Linked DNA regions of Homo sapiens: region 1 is linked to region 2. The links are contacts of gene promoters, found by promoter capture Hi-C in human tissues and cell types (Jung and others, 2019). All regions are on one chromosome and are shown on one strand. Each heading gives the region's core, a stretch centred on a gene start or on the middle of the fragment in contact. The rest is flanking DNA. Distances are from core to core; before and after follow the strand shown. Region 1 has its middle 50 kb from the start of KLHL31. Region 2 holds the start of ELOVL5 (ELOVL fatty acid elongase 5).

Region 1 (3,474 bases), core at 440-2,939, 370 kb after region 2:
AAACCTTCCCACACATAGTGAAAACCTTTCAATGATTTTCTGTCAGTTTCTGGATAGAGGCAAGAACAGCATAGCCTACAATTCTGTGCCTAGCCTTTTTCGGGGCCACTGTCCCTGCAGCGGTCTGAGCTCCATGGCTTTCTTTCAGTTTCTTGTATACTGCTGTCTTTCCTCATGGCTGGGGACTTCAGACAGGATGTTCTCTTTGCCTGAAATATTTTCTACTTTTCCCCTCCTTTAATCTAGTTAGCTACCACTCGTCCTTCAGGACTCTGATAAAATGTCCCTTTCCTGGAAAGCATAGTGAAAATTTGTTAGTTTCTGTGTTTGTTTGCTTTCCTGCCCAACATCTGACCTCCACGTCCTACTTAAGGGGACTCTTATAAATTATATCCTTTGACTGATAAGGTTTGAAACTTAATATTCAGAATAGCTATTAAAAGGTATTCAACATATGCAATAGGACCACATACAAGTAAAACGTACTTTTCTTATGTATTTCAGTGAAATGTCTCGTTACTTAATAAGTAATAAGAAAACATAGTATTTTTCTTATGTGAAGTATTTTATCTTCACATCTTCTAAATTCCAATATAAATTCAGTTGAAGTACTTCCACAAACACCTTTATAAAGCTGCATGGCCACTTTTAAGAAAATAGATAAAAAAGTCTGTCTTCCTTGACAGGTGCAAAGGGTGAAAGGCACCCCGTCCATAAGAGTGAGCTAGGGTCATATTGTTTCTCAGTGGTGAAGTACTGTAGTCAACTCTTTCTCTGAACTTCAAAGCAAGCTGACTTTGTCTTTAACCACATATGGGTTTGGCTCAAGGACAAAGAAGATCTTTGTTTATGGGACTCTGGGAGCATTCAGTAATTTTTCAGGTGGAGGGTGACCTGCAGAATTGTTCATTTAAATGACATGCCTTATCAGAAGCCAGAAAGAAGACTTCCTCATGAAATGCTCTTCAACCTCTGCACTTTCCTAAGATGTTTATTGAAAAGGCTCTTTGTAGAAAAATAGTTTGAGAGTGACTTCTAAAAGGTAGTTTTTAAAGTAATAAATATTGATTTTTTTAATCCAAAGAGGTATAAAAACAAGCCAAAACATGGACCACGATCCCCCCATCCACTTAACCCACTTATAAATTTAATCTTTACAGAACTGTACAAAACCAATAGGATTAGCTGCAACCTCATTCCCTTCTTATCCCCAACATTCCATTATAAAAAAGCAAATATCCTAAAATACTATCTATTTATAAAGTACATATTTTTGTACAAAAGTAATTATGCTATCCAGCACTTTGCTATTTGTGCTTAATATATACAAAAAGGAATTTAACCCTGGGTAGTTCTAACTGTATGAATCATTGCTTTACAATAAAACAGAATAAAAACTATAGGGCAGTTAGAATGATGCTTTTAGCCCAGCCTAAAAAACTCAGAGGGATGTAGCATCATCAGATAACTTTTTGGACTACCTTTGTGACCAAAAAAAAAAGGCTTTGGCTACTGTCACGGATCAGGCTACAGGTTTTACAGGTAGACTTGAATTCAAGCTGTAGAATTGACAAGTTAGGTTGTCCTTGGGCAAATAACCTCCTAACCCCAAATGTCCTTATCTAAACAGTGGAGCAAACAACACTTAGATTACAGGGTTGTTGTAAGCAATTTTTTGTTTGTTTCTTTGTTTTTTTGTTTTGAGACTGAGTCTCACTCTGTCACCCAGGCTGGAGTGCAGTGGTGAGATCTCAGCTTACTGCAACCTCTGCCTCCTGGGTTTAAGCAATTCTTGTGCATCAGTCATCTAAGTAGCTGGAATTACAGGTGTGCACTATCACATCTGGCCTTTTTTTTTTTTTTTTTTTGTATTTTTAGCAGAGACAGGATTTCACCATGCTGGCCAGGCTGGTCTCAAACTCCTGACCTCAAGTGAGCCACCCACCTTAGCCTCCCAAAGTGCTGGGATTACAGGAGTGAGCCACCATGCCTAGCCCTATTGTGAGCAATAATGAAATAATATATATAAAGCACTTAGCACTGTGGTCACATAGGAATCCTGCAGAAATTATAATTTTTTTAAAACTTTTTTTAAAAAGGTTGGTAAATAGGTAGCCTCCAAGTTTTCGTGCTTGCCTTAATTCCATCTTCTGGGAGAAGCCTGTAGGTCTTCTGTAAAAGGGAGTCCTTTCAGGCCCCGCTTCATGGTTTAGTGTCCAAGGTAATGTCTTGGTCCACCAGACAGCGCTTTCCTAGCCTGTGCTCTTCAGTCATGACTAAATCTTCTTCATTTGCATTGAAATCTTCTCTTTTATTTTTACATTTTCTACAAGAAGCAATTCCTCTTGTTTGGCAGAACATTGGCTGCACTAATTAGGATGACTTCAACGAAGGGCAAATCACAGAGAGCAACTCGAATAGGGTGTCTACTTGGGCATGGTTGTAGTTCATATTGACCGGAATACATGACCCAAAGCAGGTTTGGAACAGAGAGCACAGAAGCAAAGCGAAAAGATGGAGAGTTTCGTTTTAGTGAGTTCAATGCATCTGTGAGGAAATGTCCAAAAATGCGTTGGACTGTTGGTCATCAGCCTATGAGAAGGACTTGGGGGATTGGGGATACAAATTTAGAAGTCATCAATGCACAGGAGATTGGACCTGGGAAAAGACACCTGGAGAACTATTTTAGGCACAAAAAGATAAAGGAGAGCCTGCAAAGGAGCCTGGGAAGAGGTGGTCAGAGGTAGGAGGAAGGTGAAAAGTTTAGTTTTCAGGAACCAGTAGAGGAGGGTTTTAGGAATGAAGACTGGTTGACCATGTCCAGTGCTGCAAAGAGATCAGGTAAGTAAAGAACTGAAAGATTTCAGATTTCCATCACTCCACAAAGGTTCCTCATATTGGATTGTGATAATGGTGTGTATGCTCTGACACTGATTCTATGACTTCAACTGGGTGCCCAACACTTCAATTCCTCTCTGATACTAAACACCTGGAGTTAGCACAGACCCCACATGCGAAGGGCTCAGTCCCCAAATTGCCTTCACATCTGACATCAGCCACCAATCTCAGGTATCCCAAGCTACCTGTACTTCTGCCTAGCTGACTACAAATTTGGGGGATCTCATGACCTCCCTCAGGTTCAGTAATTCACTAGAATGGCTCACAGAACTCACTGAGAGTGCTACAGTTTTATAATAAAGGAAACAACTTAGGAATAACCAAATGGAAGAGATGGATAGAACAAGATATGAGGATAGGGGAATACAGGGCTTCCATGTACCACCCTCCTAGCACATGATGTGTTCACCAGCTGGAAAGCTCTTCGAGTCTCATGGTCCAAGGGTTTTATATAGGTTCCATTATGCAGATATGACTGATTAAACCACTGGTCACAAGACTGAACTCCATGTCTAGTCTCTTTCCCCTTCCCACAGGTCAGAGGGTGGAGTTAAAAGTTCTAACCCTCTAATCACA
Region 2 (3,189 bases), core at 537-3,036:
TCTGTAACTATCAATAAAAATTTCCCCTTTGTCTTCAATTAGAAATAGAAACGAAAATGCAAAAAGAGAAACAGTACAGAAAAAGTTCCTGGCAATAAGAAGTTAGAATCTAGGGTAAAAATCTAAAAGGAAAATGAGTAACATTTCCCTTTCAAGTGCAGAGCTTTCCTGGAGAATCCCAGGCAGTGTCTGAGCTACCAGAAAAGTAACCCACTTGTCCCCAATCACAGATGGAAGGCTAAAATGTTTGTCCACGGCCATCTAATGCAAAACCGCCTGTTTCTATCTGTAGATTCTGCACGAAATGCTTTTGGCTGAGACGTGCAAGCAAAACAAGTGCAGACCAACAGGTTATCTGCCAAGCGGTTAGGAGAATGAGTTACAAAACCTGACAAGCAACATCAGCTCTTCCGTACAATTCTATGAAGCACTTCCTGCCACGGGTCCCGCTATTTAAAACAAATTAGGCTGCTCGCTCCCCACAAATCCCATCTAGCACCTCTCGGTTCCTCAGTCTAGCTAATAAACCATGCACTGGATTCTTCCGAAAGAGACCCCCCGCCCCCGACCCCGCCACCTCCGCCACTTTGCATAACTGGCCAAATGCATTCTCCAAATTTGCAATCAAGGAGCTTAATTCACAATTGTGGATGGGGCGGGGGGAACCGCCAAGTGCAAGAACACGGAACGGTTGCAAGACGCAGTTCAGCAAGAACAACTCTTGCTCTAGGCATTGCTCCGTCGACCCGAGGTGGTGGGGTGGGAGAGTCTTACCGGCGTGGAAACAGTAAAAAGGCACTTTTCCTTACAACTCGCAAGACAACACACACTCTAGCTCCCCCGGCGCAGAGCACAACCGCCCCCCCGCCGCGCGCCTCCCTCGCAGCCAACCGCTCCCGCCTCTCCAGGGATCAGGCTCCCAGAAAGGGCCGCCCCGGTCGCCCCCGAGTCCCCGCCCTCTCGCTTTCCCACCAGCCTCATCCCTCCCTGAGTACCAAGGGCTGCCGTTGTCTGGTTTCAATAAAAACTGAAGCGGTCCCGAGCTAGCAGGCTTCCCTCCGAGGGGCGGACGGAAGGTCCGCAGGGTTAACGGAAGCGGAGAGAACAGGACAAAAAGGAAAGGCCGGAGAGTCCCCCCAGCGGCGCCCGGTGCCCGCAGACCCTCGCACAGGCTCTTCGAACTCACCCGGGTTTCGCCGACTCCAAAGAAAGCGCGCTCCCTCCGAGAGCGCTCCCCCGGCTCTCCCGCCGCGCGCTCCGGCCCGCAGGGCGGGAGGACCCAGGCGGACAGATCCATCCCTCCGCGTCTGGTGTGGGCACGGTGTCGTGCCCCGCGGCGCCTGTCAGCGCGCACAGGTGGGACCGCAGCACAGAGAACGCTCCCGAGCGCCCTGCCTCAGCCTCGGCGTGGGGCGAGCCGCCCGCGCCCGCACCCGCACCCCTTTCCCCGCGCCCGAGGAGCCGGGCTGTACCCCGGAGCCGGCGGAGCTGGAGGCCGCGGGCGGAGCGCGGGTTGCCCCGGCAGCTCTTTCTCGGCACCAGGTCCGAGACCTAACGGCAGTTCTCTCTGACCGCTTCCCGGCCGCGCGCTCGCGCGGGTGTCATGGCCGAGCGGCGGCCCCCGACGAAGTTTCCCGGAGCTGACGGCTTTACCTTTTAGCCCAAGGGGCGGCAGCAGCTTTGAGCAGCAGCAAGGCGGCGGCGGCGGAGGGAGCGCGGGTGGCAGCCGGCGCAGAGGCGGATGTAGAAGGAGACACCGGTGGCTAGGACCCGCGCGATGGGAAGAGGAAGGCGCCGGCTATCTACAATCAGAACGTGGGCTGACCGTGACGTCACAATGGCGCGGCCAGCCAATCGGGACCCGAAGGATGAATCAAGCGCTATGATGTCATGCGGCCCGGGAGCCAATCGCGGGACAATAGAACTTTCGTGATCGTAAATTCCAGAATCCGATGCGGTGGAGAGCCTAGGCCGGGGTTGGCCCCTCGGTTCCACGTGTCTCTGGGAAATTTTTTTCCCCTTTCTTCCTAATAAGCCTGCGTGGAACGCAGAGCCTGCGCAATAGCCCCGGTGAAGTTGTCGATGCCCTGAACTCTGGTTTTTTTACTGCCAGGCGTGGCAGGAGTCTGTGGCCGCATTTGGGTGGCAGAAGCCCACCCTCGTTACGGTCTCCTCTATGAGTTATGTCATGCTGAAGGGGATCCACTTCATCGTTAAAGCTGAAAGGGTTAAATGCCCACGGAGACCGCCGGAGTGAAGGTCTGCAGTTGAACAAGATAAAGGAACAAGAACAAAACGACTCAAAACTGTTGTAACCATAACTCCCTTGCAAAGGATTTACCGTGTATTTTTCTTAGGGATTCTGATTTTTCTTTGGAAGCCACTATCAACTCCATTTCTACTCTAGAAATTATTCTAAAGGATTGTTAAATGAGGAAAGATGGAATCAGTGTCTTTTCAGCTAAGCATATTTAAGCACTTAAGACAAAGGGGGTTCAGGGCATAAACGGAAGATCCTTGCTGTTTTTCACTGATATTTGGATAATTAAAGACCTTCATTAGCTTTGTATCCTACTGTTTCCCCATTCAAACCCCAGAGATTTAGCCTTTCTTCGTGTGCCCCTCTTGCTGTATTCTTACTCCTCTATGTGCATCCACCTAACAGTCGGCTATTTAATGTAGGCAAATTTATTCTTTTTTTTCTTTTTTTTTCTTTTTTGAGACAGAGTCTCGCTCTGTTGCCCAGGCTGGAGTGCAGTGGCGCGATCTCAGCTCACTGCAACCTCCACCTTCCGGGTTCAAGCGATTCTCCTGCCTCAGCCTCCCAAGTAGCTGGAATTACAGGCACGCGCCACCACACCCGACTAATTTTTGTATTTTTAGTAGAGATGAGGTTTCGCCATGTTGGCCAGGCTGGTCTCGAACTCCTGACCTCAGGTAATCCGCTCGCCTCAGCTTGCCAAAGTGCTGGGATTACAGACGTGAGTCACCGAGCCTGGCCGGCAAATTTATTCTTTTACATATTTACAATGTAATGCTTATCACGTGCCAGCTGTGTTCCAGGCAGTGGGCCATTGCAATAGGAATGCAAGTATACAAACCATGTACAAATTAAGTAAATTAAACATATACAAAGAATCGAGATTGTCAGTTGCCATTGAGCTCCACAAACACTGAATGACTTCAATT

Evidence for each region. The method cuts DNA at HindIII sites, captures the fragments that hold promoters and counts their contacts. A contact is called where the count stands out against the background at its distance.
Region 1: a contact is called between a fragment that was not itself captured here and the fragment with the promoter of ELOVL5 in region 2, in 1 of the 25 tissues and cell types used here (heart left ventricle).

The regions. Positions count from the first base shown.
Region 1 is chr6:53,714,292-53,717,765 of GRCh38, forward strand. No RefSeq gene overlaps it. Among named protein-coding and RNA genes, the nearest start is that of KLHL31, 50 kb to the left of the region's middle. The HindIII fragment of the contact is 5,838 bases long and covers 1-3,474 here.
Region 2 is chr6:53,347,164-53,350,352 of GRCh38, forward strand. ELOVL5 (ELOVL fatty acid elongase 5) reads right to left here and starts at 1,787. Exons shown (of 8, transcript NM_021814.5): 1 at 1,654-1,787. RefSeq lists a silencer at 1,188-1,627. The HindIII fragment of the contact is 18,484 bases long and covers 1-3,189 here.